Regions from separate parts of the Homo sapiens genome. Here regions 2 and 3 are each linked to region 1. Evidence: promoter capture Hi-C in 16 types of primary human blood cells and fetal thymus (Javierre and others, 2016). All regions are on one chromosome and are shown on one strand. The core of a region is centred on a gene start or on the middle of the fragment in contact, and the rest is flanking DNA. Distances in the headings are between cores, read along the strand shown. Region 1 holds the start of SOWAHA (sosondowah ankyrin repeat domain family member A). Region 2 overlaps RAD50 (RAD50 double strand break repair protein). Region 3 overlaps RAD50 (RAD50 double strand break repair protein).

Region 1 (4,144 bases), core at 140-2,639:
CGCTCTTGGCGGCCCAATGCAGGGCCGTGAAGCCAGACATGAAGTCGCGCTTGGCCGCCAAGCCGCGGTCGCGCAGCAGCAGCCCGTGCAGCTGGTGGGTCCAGCGGCCCCCGGCAGTCCGCACGAGCCACTCGTGCTCGGACGGCTCCAGGGGCACCGCGGACGGCGGCGGCGCGGCGGGCAACTCCTCGGCGTCAGGGCTCAGCAGACGCGGGCCGGCGCGCGACAGGCGCCTCAGGTGCGGGGAGCGGCCCGGGCCCAGGCCGAGGCCCAGACCGGACTCTTCCACCGAGAGCCGCCTCAGCAGCAGAGGGGAGCTCCGCGGGCTCGGCTCCTCCGACAGCTGCCGGCGCAGGCCGGGCTCCTCCGCCCGGAGGCGGAGCGTGGCGGGGGCCGGGACGCAGCGCACCGGCAGCATACAGGGCTTCTGCTGCGGCGGCCCTTTCGCTGCCCCGGGCCCGGGCTCCGCGTCTGGCGGATCAGAGCAGGGCGATGCCGCCTCAGAAGGGGCCCTAGGCGGTGGGGCCGCGTCTGCGGAGGGTCTCTCGGTGGCCTGGGCTAGCTCAAGGGCTGGAAGCGGTGGGTCGGCGGACCGCTCCCCGGGCGGCTGAGCGGGCTCGGAGGCCGGCCCCCCCGGGGTGTCCTGTGGCTCTGTTGGCAGACCCAGGTCCCCTGGCGGCTCCACTGGCCGCGGCACCCGGACCAAGGGCGGAGCTCCCGGGGCAGAGGCGCTCCGCGGCAAGACCGTCGAAGTGGGTTTCGACGGCTGGGCCGCTGCCCCCGGGGGGCCGAAGGGTGCGGGCTCGGGCTCCGGGGGCCGGGGCTTCTTCCTCAGCACCACGAACTTGACGCCGTCGAGCTCCTTCACCACCGCCACGTTGTTGACGAACTGCTTGAAGCGGTCCCTGCGGGCGGCGCGGCCCCGCGGGTCGCCGGCATCGAGCAGCGGCTTGAAGCGGCTCAGCAGCTCGGAGTTGCGCACCTTCCCGCCGTGCTCCTGCAGGAAGCCCAGCACCGCCGCCTGGCTCACCCCGGCAGCCGCAGCGGCGGCGGCGGCGGCCAGCGCCATGGTGGGGCCCTGGGTTCCTGGCTCCCGGGGCGGGTGGGCGCCGCGTCGCCGCGGGACGCGCGGGAGCGGGGTTCCGGGAGGCGCGGCCGCGCTCACCTGGTGCCTTCCCCGCGGCCAGCCGGGCGTGTCCCCGAAGCTGGACCTCGGTCGCGCCAGTGCCGCTGGGCCGGGGCGTCTCGGGGCGAAGGGCGCCGGGGGCCGCGGGGAGCGCCCACCCCCAGCGCCCCGCCGGGCCCCGGCCTTCGGGGTAGGTTTCTGCCTTTGTATTCTGTCCAATGGGCGCCTGCTTCCATCCCCCGCGCCGCGCTCGCCTTACAGGTGACAGCTGCCCCCGCGATGCAGAGGGAACCGGAGCAGAAATTCCCGCCGCCCCCCGCCCGCCCCAGAATTAAAGGCGCAGCGCTCCAGCTCTGGTCTCGGTTGCTAGGTGGGTGTGTTCCCTAGGGACGCCGCGGTCCGCCAAGGAGGAATGGATTTTTATTCCTTTAATAAACATTTAACCACTGCAAAACACCAAGCGATGATTTCAGAACAATCTTTTTTTTTTAAAGGTCGTCAATACCACTCCAGTTTTTTTTTTTTTTTACTGTGTTTCATGCAGGAAAACGGCTTCATGAGATTTACAGCAAAACCAATTCACTCTGCGCGGCAATGCACGTTACTCTAGGTTTAGAGAGACGTTTTCAAAAGCAATTTTCTCATGGTAAGAGAATACATTTTCACGTAGAATTTGGGGTATAAAACCACAGGAAACATAAACATAACAGGAAAACATAGAGGAAAACATAAAGAAGGAAAAAAAATCACTTGAAATCACCATTAACATTTTGAAATATCCTCTCCCTGTCTCCCATGTGTGTATGTATGTTTATGCTTTAAAGTAAGAAAGCAATGCGGAGTCATGCCATGGTTTTAAACCTTCGTTTGTTCCACAGATAGGTATTGAGCACGTAGTTTGTGCCAGGACTTTTTTTTTTTTTTTTTTGGCTAAGATGCGTCAGTTAGCAAGACAGATTTAAAAACCCGTGACCTAGTGGGGCTCATGTGTTGGAGGAGAACAGAAGCATATGGTGAATCCGAAAACTATATGATATACTAAATACATGCTATGAAAAAAGCACAGCGGGGTATAACGGATGAGGGTCAGGTTGCAATTTTGATCTGGGCAGTCAGGATAGTACTCGTTGTGAAAGTGACATTTAAACAAGGACTTGAAGGAGATCAGGGAGTTATGTAGACGGGGAAGAGGTTTCTAGTTGAGGGAACTGCCTGGCAGAGGTAGAATCAGTTCCTTAATTTAAAATGCAGGCCGGGCGCGATGGCTCACGCCTCTAATCCCAGCACTTTGGGAGGCTGACTTGGGCGGATGATCTGAGGTCAGGAGTTCGAGACCAGCCTGGCCATCATGGTGAAATCCATCTCTACTTAAAAATACAAAAATTAGCTGGGTGTGATGGCACGCACCTGTAATCCCAGCTACTCCGGAGGCTGAGGCAGGTGAATCGCTTGAACCCGGGAGGTGGAGGTTGCAGTGAGCTGAGATGGCGCCACTGCACTCCAGCCTGGATGACAAGAGCAAGCCCTGTCTCATAAATAAATAAATAATTGCAGTACTACAAATATATCTAACCAGAAGCAGCATATTGTAGTAGCTGAGAAAACAAGACTCTGGAGTCAACATTCTACACTTGAGTTCTGGCTCTACCTTGGGCAAATGCCTTGACTTCTCTGTGCCTCAGCTTTCTTGTCTGTAAAGGAATGAGGAAAATAGTACTTACCTGCTCAGATGGTTGAGAGAATTAAGTGAGAAAATAAACACAAAAGACTTAGCATAATGCTTGGCTTACAGTAATCATTTGAATTATTATTAGTAGTATAGTCACTACTATTAGTATTACTCAAAAGGAAAACAGAAGACTAAAATGTAAAGGGTCCCCTTTCCCCAATCCAATCCCCAGGGGCAATTTCTGAGTTCAGCCCTGTCCCCAAGATGCAAACAATTTAAACATTTCCCCCTCACTTTATATTGTGAGCATTCCTCCCAATGACAATAGCTAGTCTAGTCTTCAAAAACATACAACTTTTAATGATAGCATCAAATAAATGTAGTATTATACTTTGTTTTCTTGTTCTTCATTGTTTATATTGTTTCTAGTTTTTAATTCTTATAAATGATGCTGTTGATATATAAGACTTTGTGCACCTTTCTGAGTAATTCCTTAGGATAGGCTCCTAGGAGTAGAATTCGCAGGGCACGCACCATCACACGCAACAGCATCACACCCAGCTAATTTTATTTTTATATTGCCCAAGCTTGTCTCAAACCCTTGGCCTCAAGCGAGCCTTCCACCTCAGCCTCCAAAGATTACACGTGTGAGCCACTGCATCTAGCCTTACCCCAGCGCCCCCCCTTTTTCTTTTGAGATGGAGTTTTGCTTTTGTTGCCCAAGCTGGAGTGCAATGGCGCAATCTTGGCTCACTGCAAGCTCCGCCTCCCGGGTTCAAGTAATTCTCTTGCCTCAGCCTCCCAAGTAGCTGGGATTACAGGCATGTGCCACCATGCCTGGCTAATTTTTTATTTTTAGTAGAGATGGAGTTTCACCATGTTGGCCAGGCTGGTGTCGAACTCCTGACCTCAGGTGATCCACTCACCTCAGCCTCCCAAAGTGCTGGGATTGCAGGCGTGAGCCACTGCGCCTGCCCTACCTTACCCATTCTTTAGACTCACCTCAAGGCCCACCCCTGTAAAGCCTTCTGCAAACTGCCTCAGGTGTATCGTGCTCTGCATTCCTCAATAATTTATTTCAACAAACATCTATTGGATATCTTTGGGTGCAAGGCTGTAAGCCAGATACTCTGGGTAGAAGATACAATCTGCCTTTGAAGAGCTTACTGCTTAGTGGAGAAGAGAAAAACATTAAGTACAATTAATTATGTGACATAGCCAAATGAAATGAATGCTCCAGGTACTTACCAGAGCACGTGGGGGATGGGGGGTGAAGGGGTGGGGAAGGATAGGGAAGAGGGAGGACTGGGACATCTCCAAGAGGCAGGCTATGAGAACAGGATAGGTGA
Region 2 (4,348 bases), core at 870-3,369, 230 kb after region 1:
TGGCTATTCACAGGTGCAATAACAGTGCAATACAACTTGAACTCCTGGGCTCAAGTGTTCCTCCCACCTCAGCCTCCAAGTAGCTGAGACTATAAGTATGTACCACCATGCCCAGCAGAACCTAATTTTAAACTAACATATGAAGTTATTGGAATGCTTAGACAGCAATTGCAAGCTTTCATAATTGCACCAAAATGCATCCTCGACTTTAACATAATTTATTAAAATTATACTAATAGTATAGCTTGTGATTTGTATATGAACGTAAACGTTCATATACAAATGAACCTAAAAACAGAAACTTTGTTTACTTTGTTCCCTAATGTATCCCCAGAACATGCAATAGGTGTTCAATGTTAGCTAAACGAAAGAGAGATTTGAAAAAAATAATTTTACCAAGAGCAACAGTCACAGGTATCACTGATTGAATGTCTGCTATGTTCCAGACACTGTACTAGGTGCTGCTATAAATTCTCTCTAATCCTCACAAAAGTATATACTAAGCAGGAAATTCAAAGGACTTAACTGACTTGTACAAAATTGTATAGTTAAGATTGGGAGACAAGATAACAATAAGATTAGAAGGCAGGGTATCATAATGACTAGGCTCTGGGTGCTAGAAGAAGTGGACATTTGTATGTAAGAAAGTAAACCTCAACTTTTACCTCATATCATATTAAGATTCTGAAATGAAGCATATACTTAATTGTAAGAACTCAAACTATAAAACTTTTAGAGGAAAACACTGAAGAATATTTTTGTGACACTGGGTCAAAGACTTCCTAAATAATAAACAAAAAGTATAAACCATAAGAGAAAAAAGTTTATAAACTGTACCTGATCAAAATTTAAAACTCCTGTCCTCTGAAAAGCAGTTAAGAAATATCTGCAAAACCAATATCTGATAAAGGGCTTGTATCCAGAACATATTTAGAACTCTCTGCCTGGCACTGTAGCTCACACCTGTAATCCCAGCACTTTGGGAGACTGAGGCAGGCTGATTGCTTGAGCCCAGAAGTTTGAGACCAGCCTGGGTAACCTGGTGAGACCTTGCCTCTACAAGTCTCACCGGTGTGGTGAGTGTGTGCCTGTAGTCCCAGCTACGTGGGAGACTGAGGTGGAAGGATCACTTGAGCCTGGGAGTCAGAGGTTGCAGTGAGCCAAGATCACACCACTGCACTCTGGCCTGGGTAAGACAGCGAGACCCTGTCTCAAAAAACAAGAAAAAAAAAAAAAAAAAAAAGAACTCTCACAGCTCAATAATAAAATGACCAATAAATAAATAACATTGAAAAATAGGCAAAAGACTTTTATATTTTACTAACGAAGATATTCAGGTGGCAAATAAATACATGAAAAGATGCTCAAAATCAATAATCAATTGACTGATCAACTAGGAAAACACAAATTAAAAATATAAAGAAATACAACCTCACAATGTCACAATGAGACACTACCACACCCCTACTGTTATGGCTAAAATGAAAAAGACTGACAGTACTAAGTGGGGATGAGAATGCAGAGCAATTACATTCCCATAAATTGTTGGTATATTGTTGGTAGGACTATGAAGTGGTACCAGATGGTACAGCCATCTGGTAACTTATAAGGTTAAACATATATTTACCACACGACCTAGCAACCCGAGTCCTAAAGTTATCCAAAGACCTGTATACAGAAGTTTATAGCAGTTTTATCTGTAACAACCCAAAGCCGAAAACAACTTATTTCTTTTTATTATACTTTAAGTTCGAGGGTACATGTGCACAACATGCAGGTTTGTTACATATGTATACATGTGCCATGTTGGTGTGCTGCACCCATTAACTCGTCATTTACATTAGGTGTATCTCCTAATGCTATCCCTCCTCCCTCCCCCCACCCCACAACAGGACCCAGTGTGTGATGTTCCCCTTCCTGTGTCTGTCCAAGTGTTCTCATTGTTCAATTCCCACCTATGAGTGAGAACATGCGGTGTTTGGTTTTTTGTTCTTGCGGTAGTTTGCTGAGAATGATGGTTTCCAGCTTCATCCATGTCCCTACAAAGGACATGAACTCATCATTTTTTATGGCTGCATAGTATTCCATGGTGTATATGTGCCATATTTTCTTAATCCAGTCTATCATCATTGGACATTTGGGTTGGTTCTAAGTCTTTGCTATTGTGAGTAGTGCTGCAATAAACATACATGTGCATGTGTCTTTATAGCAGCATGATTTATAATCCTTTGGGTATATACCCAGTAATGGGATGGCTGGGTCAAATGGTATTTCTATTTCTAGATCCTTGAGGAATCGCCACACTGACAAATGGGTTCTAATTAAACTAAAGAGCTTCTGCACAGCAAAAGAAACTACCATCAGAGTGAACAAGCAACCTACAGAATGGGAGAACATTTTTGCAATCAACTCATCTGACAAAGGGCTAATATCCAGAATCTACAAAGAACTCAAACAAATTTACAAGAAAAAAACAAACAACCCCATCAAAAAGTGGGTGAAGGATATGAACAGACACTTCTCAAAAGAAGAGATTTATGCAGACAACAGACACATGAAAAAATGCTCATCATCACTGGCCATCAGAGAAATGCAAATCAAAACCACAATGAGATATCATCTCACACCAGTTAGAATGGCGATCAATAAAAATCAGGAAACAACAGGTGCTGGAGAGGATGTGGAGAAAGAGGAACACTTTTACACTGTTGGAGGGACTGTAAACTAGTTCAACCAAAAACAACTTAATGTCCATCAGCCACAGAATGGATGAGGAAAAAAATTATAATACATGCATACAATGGAAGGAATGCTCCTCCACAATAAAAAGGAATGAATTGCCGGGCACAGTGGCTCACACCTGTAATCCCAGCACTTTGGGAGGCCGAGGTGGGCAGATCATCTGAGGTTGGGAGTTCGAGACCAGCCTGACCAACATGGAGAAACCCCGTCTCTACTAAAAATACAAAAAAAATTAGCTGGGTATGGTGGCACATGCCTGTAATCCCAGCTACTTGGGAGGCTGAGGTAGGAGAATTGCTTGAACCTGGGAGACGGAGGTTGCAGTGAGCCGAGATCATGCCATTGCACTCCAGCCTGGGCAATAAGAGTGAAACTCCGTCTCAAAAAAAAAAAAAAAAAAAAGGAATGAATTACTCACACATGCAGCAACATAGATAAATCCCAGACACAAAAGTCTGCATACTGTATGATTCTATATATGTGCCACTCTCTGGAAAAGGCAAAACTATAATGACAGAAAACAAATTAGTGGTTACTATGGATGGGAGCAGGGGAGAGGACTGACTGCAAGGACTTTGAGAGAACTTTTTGGAGTGACTGAAATATTCTACATCTTCATTTTAGTGATGGTTATGCTACTGTATGCATATGTCCTAACTCATAGAATTTATACTCTAAAAAGGGTGGATTTTACCATATATATATTATACCTTAATAAACTTGACTTAAAAAGAAAAAAAGGTATAAACTTAGGAATCAGAGGACTCAAATCCTACCTTTAACCCTTATTTCCACTGTGAATACCTGTACCTCAGTTTTCCTGCCTATACAACCTCACAGTTACTATGGAGTTTACATTATACATTTTAAAGCACTCGGGTTAGTGTTAGGCAGTAAACATTCAATTAATGAGACCATTTGCACCACTTGTGAAAAAAATTCTGTACTCAGAAAATACCTTTTGAGTAGAGTCTAACAAATATAACTGGATGGATACTTAAGAGCAATGAATACTAACAGCTCTACTATGATACTCTACAAAGTGCTCAGTTTCTTTCCATCAGTGTTTTCACTGCCTCTTGGTAGCACAAACATTATGATAATCATCTGGGCTTGGATCTTTCATGACATCTCTACCTGCTTCATTCCTTAAATCCAGCCAGTCACCAGATCCCCTGAATTCCTTCTTTGACATCTGTGTTTTGGTTCTAATCTCAGAGCACAAAACATAGGTTCTATCCCCAGAGTACACACCTAGTAAAAGGAGCTAGGACAAGCAGGCAGACAACAATAACAAAAACAGCCAAGGGTTTAAAGCTTAGGTGCCAGTGTGAAATGAGATAAAAAAAATAGAGCAGCTGGGCTATCAAGTATAGAAGGACCATGAACTTGTGTGCAGAAAAAAAAAGTTAGAAACATATTCCTCTAGCAATTCCCATTTAAGGCAAGAAAGGAAAACAGATCTAAGTAGGCCAAAAAAAGAGGACAGGATATGGTGGGATGGTAATAAAGTAGTTTATGAGAGAGTGAGAGTTCCCGAAGATAAAGGGAATCAGTAAAAATGGGAAAGGATGCATTCTAGTGCATGGTTGAAAGGACGTAGTCT
Region 3 (4,282 bases), core at 1,320-3,819, 240 kb after region 1:
TTTGTGTCTCTGTGTCACATTTTGGTAATTCTCACAATATTTCAAACTTTTTCATTATTATTGTATCTGTTATAGTGATCTGTGATAAGTGATCTTTGATGTTACTACTGTAATTGTTTGTGTGCCACAAACCATCCACATATAAGAGGTGAACTTAATCCATTAACGTGTGTGTCCTGACTGCTTTACTGACCTGCCATTCCCGTCTCTCTCCCTCTCCTTGGAACCTGATTGCCTGAGACACAATAATATGGAAATTAGGCCAATTAGTAACCCTACAACAGCCCCTAAGTGTTTAAGCGAAAGAAGAGTCAAACATCTCGTTTTAAATCAAAAACTAGAAATGATTAAGCTTAGTTGAGAAAAGCATGTCAAAATCCAAAACAGGTTGAAAGTTAGGCCTCTTTCATCAGTTAGCTGAGTTGTGAGGGCAAAGGAAAAGTTCTTGAATAAAATTAAAAGTGCTACTTTAGTGAACACACAAATGATAAGAAAGTGAAACAGCCTTACTGCTGATATGGAGAAAGTTTTAGTAGTTGGGATAGATTAAACCAGCCACAACATTCCCTCAGGCCAAAACCTAATCCAGAGCAAAGCCCCAACTCTCTGCAATTCTATGAAGGCTGAGAGAAGTAAAGAAGCTGCAAAGAAAAGTTGGAAGCTAGCAATGGTTGGTTCATGAGGCTTAAAGAAAGAAGCTGTCTCCACAACATAAAAGTGCGAGGTGAAGCAGCAAGTGCTGATGCAGGAGCTGCAGCAAGTTATCCAGAAGATCTAGCTCAGGTAATTGATGAAGGTAGCTACACTAAACAACAGATTTTCAATGTAGACAAGACCGCCATCCATTAGAACTTAACCTGCAATATCTAAGGTATGCCTATAGTAATTTTCTAGTTCCATTATTCCTTTTATATTAGTTAAGGTTCTAGTATAAGGGGCTTTGCTCTTTCTCCATTTCCCCCCCCATTTTCTTGTATCAGTATAAACTCATAGATTCCTTACTTGGGCTCCAATCCCCCACCAGGCTGTCACAGCTTGTTTTTGTGGATGCCTTCCTCACTCAGCCACACCTAACGGATTTTGGACTGAATTATTCAGGAATTAATATTCCTCCATCAGTTATGCTGAGGGTTTTTACCACGAAAGACTATTAAATTGAAATGCGTTTTCTGTATCTATTGGTGTTCATATGATATTTCTTTTTTATTCTGTTAATGTGGCAAATTATACTGATTGGTTTCTTTTCTACCGTATCTCTCTAAGCATTATCTAGCTGCACCCCACATATTTTTACATGCTATATTTTTGATTCATTTAAAGTATTTTTTCTAATTTCCCTTGTGATTCCTTTTTTGATCCATGTAATATTTAGAAGTATGCTGCTTAATTTTTCAATTATTTGGGGATTTTCCGGATACTTTTCTGCTACTGATTCTGGTGTAGTCACAGAATACATTATCTATGACTTTACTCCTTATAAATTTATTGACACTTGTTTTACAGTCCAGAATGTTGGTCTATCTTACAGAATGTTCCACATGCACTTGAAAATAAAGTGTATTCTGCTATCGTTCAATGGAATGTCCTATAAATGTCAATCAGGTTGATTTGGTTAACAGTGTTGTTAAAATTTTCCATATACTTACTGATATTTCATCTGCTTCTTTTCTCTACTGAGAGGGGTATTGAGATCTCCAATTGACCTTGCAGATTTGTGTATTTCTCCATTCTGTTCCATAGGTTTCTGCCTCATATATTTGGAAGTTTTACATTTAGAATTTTTGTGTCCTTGCATTAAATTGACCTCTTCTCATCATAAAATGTTTCATTTTCCCTAGTTCTGATGTCTTCTGTCTGGTATTAATATGGTCACTTCAGCTTTCTTTTCATTAGCTGGCACAGTATATTTTTTCAATCCTTTTGCTTTTAACCTATTTGTACCATTATATACAAAACACCATTATTCCGTTTATTTGGGTTTTTAAAATTATTTTCCATTTTTCTCATTATGCTTATGTTTTCCTTTATATCTATGAGCATATTTATAAGAGTTATAATAAGGTTTTAGGGTTCTTATCTACTAATTCTATTATTTCTTTCATTTTGGATCTGTTCATATGATTGATTTTTCTCTGATTATGGGTCCTATTTCCCTGCTTCTTTGGATGCCTGTTAACTTTTGATTGTGAATTTTGTATTGTTGGGTGAAAGATTTTGTTTTATTCCTTTAATGAGTACTGAACTTTGTTCTGGCATGCAGTTAAGTTTTTTGAGCAACAAACAGTTGGATTCTTTTGAACCTTTGTTGTTAAGGTCTGTAAAGGGGGACCTAGAGCAGCTTTTACTCTAGGACTAATTTACAATCATTTTCGACATTTTCCTTCAGCCTCAAAAACTTTCTTTAACAATTACTATAGTGCAAGCCTGTCTGTAACAAATTACCTCTACCATTTTGTTTTAAATCTGAAAATGTCCTCCATTTCACCTCCAATTTTCAAAGAATATTTTTGCTGGATATAGGAGTTTAACTTTTATTCCCTAGCACCTTAAAGGTGCTGTCCCACTGTTTTCAGGTTTAGATTGCTTTTCCTAAGAAGTAATCATACTCATTATTCTTTCCCTCTGCATGATGTGTTACTTTTTCCTCCACCTGTTTTTAAGATTTTATATTTAGTTTTGAACAATTTGAATGTAATGTACAACATAGTTATGTTTATGCTGCTTGTGATGCATTCAGCTTCTTGGGTCTTTTTTTATAGTTTTTATTACTCTGTTTAGATGTCTTCCCACACATTATGTCCATCTTTTCCTTTAAGTCCTTGAGCTTATCTATCATAGCTTTAAAAAAATCCGGTCGGGCGTCGTGGCTCATGCCTGCAATCCCAGCACTTTGGGAGGCCGAGGCAGGCGGATCACAAGGTCATGAGTTCGAGACCAGGTTGGCTAATATGGTGAAACCCCGTCTCTACTAAAAATAAAAAATAAAAAAATAAAAAATCAGCCGGGCATGGTCGTGGGCACCTGTAGTTCCAGCTACTCGGGAGGCTGAGGCAGGAAAATTGCCTGAACCTGGGAGGCACAGGTTGCAGTGAGCCGAGATTGTGCCACTGCACTCCAGCCTGGGAAACAGAGTGAGACTCCATCTCAAAAAAAAAAATTTAAAAAAAATTTAAAAAAAAATCCTTGTCTGCTAATTCCAAAATCTGTCATCTCTGGATCTGCTTCTACTCACTTTTCCCTTCTCAGGTATAGACCACATTTTCTTTTGCATATTCCCATTAATTTTTAAAATTATATTCTGCACATTGTAGATGCCACATTGAGAGCTTCGACTGAGTAGGCTTCCTTTAAAAAGTCTTGAGTTTTGTTCTAGCAGCCAGTTAATTTACTGGCAACTCAGCTTGATTCTATCAAAACCTGGTTTCAGTATTTGTTAGGTGGGCCTTTCTGAGGTCTCAAGTGAACACTGGAGAGTTCCACAAGGTCACTCCATTCTGGCACATCAGGACTCAAATGTCTCACAGCATTGTGTGACCTTTAGAATACAACACTCACAGCCCCACTTGCCACCTTGGTAGTTGTTCTCTACTAGCCCTCATTAAATCTCATCCTATACATGGATAGCTTAGTATTTGGCCAAAGACTCAAAAGATCCTTATGCAGATTTCTGGTACACCATCTCTGCACAACAACCCTACTTCAGTACTCTGCTCTACAATTTCCAGTCACTTTAGCAAATCCAAAATCCTATCTTTGTTTCATCTGCCTAGTGATGCCCAATTCTGCCCAGCTCTCTACTGGATTCCAATTCCATGTGCCAAAGTTTACAAAGTGTTCCCAGGTAGAAAGCTGGAATGAATGCAGAATCACCTTTTATGTTTCTCCTTTCTCAAAGAATATAGCCCTGCATTATCTGTGGTCCAATGCCTGAAAATAGTTGTTTCACATACTTTTCCAGTGTTACAGTTATTCATCTTGCGAGTATAAGTGTGATACTCATTATTTTGTTGCAACCCAAATCACAAGTACTGGATTCTGCTTTAAAAAAAAAAAATCATTAAAGATCCTTTGCTGACTTTTTAATGACTTCTTGGCATGAATTTAACTTTGATACTAATTCAATTAATCATTCAACAAATATTTACAGGCACTTTGTAGGTTTCATGTGTTGTTTTGGTTCAAACTGACAGACTTTTTTTCCTTTGAAGCATGCAAGATAGGTTAAATGTAGACAAGGTGTGCTAAACACCATCATAAGCACAGGATAATCTGGGAGTACAAA

The links. The method cuts DNA at HindIII sites, captures the fragments that hold promoters and counts their contacts. A CHiCAGO score of 5 or more calls a contact.
Region 2: a contact is called between a fragment that was not itself captured here and the fragment with the promoter of SOWAHA in region 1, in 1 of 17 cell types (megakaryocytes). The highest score is 5.1, in megakaryocytes.
Region 3: a contact is called between a fragment that was not itself captured here and the fragment with the promoter of SOWAHA in region 1, in 2 of 17 cell types (erythroblasts and endothelial precursors). The highest score is 7.4, in erythroblasts.

The regions. Positions count from the first base shown.
Region 1 is chr5:132,810,547-132,814,690 of GRCh38, reverse strand. It overlaps SOWAHA (sosondowah ankyrin repeat domain family member A), which reads right to left and starts at 1,389. Exons shown (of 1, transcript NM_175873.6): 1 at 1-1,389. The coding sequence starts at 1,069. RefSeq lists an enhancer at 1-245 and a silencer at 285-354. The HindIII fragment of the contact is 6,134 bases long and covers 1-3,384 here.
Region 2 is chr5:132,582,487-132,586,834 of GRCh38, reverse strand. The region is part of intron 5 of RAD50 (RAD50 double strand break repair protein); the gene reads right to left. Among named protein-coding and RNA genes, the nearest start is that of RAD50, 28 kb to the right of the region's middle. The HindIII fragment of the contact is 3,884 bases long and covers 178-4,061 here.
Region 3 is chr5:132,566,953-132,571,234 of GRCh38, reverse strand. All of the region lies in intron 2 of RAD50 (RAD50 double strand break repair protein), which reads right to left. Among named protein-coding and RNA genes, the nearest start is that of RAD50, 12 kb to the right of the region's middle. The HindIII fragment of the contact is 4,429 bases long and covers 355-4,282 here.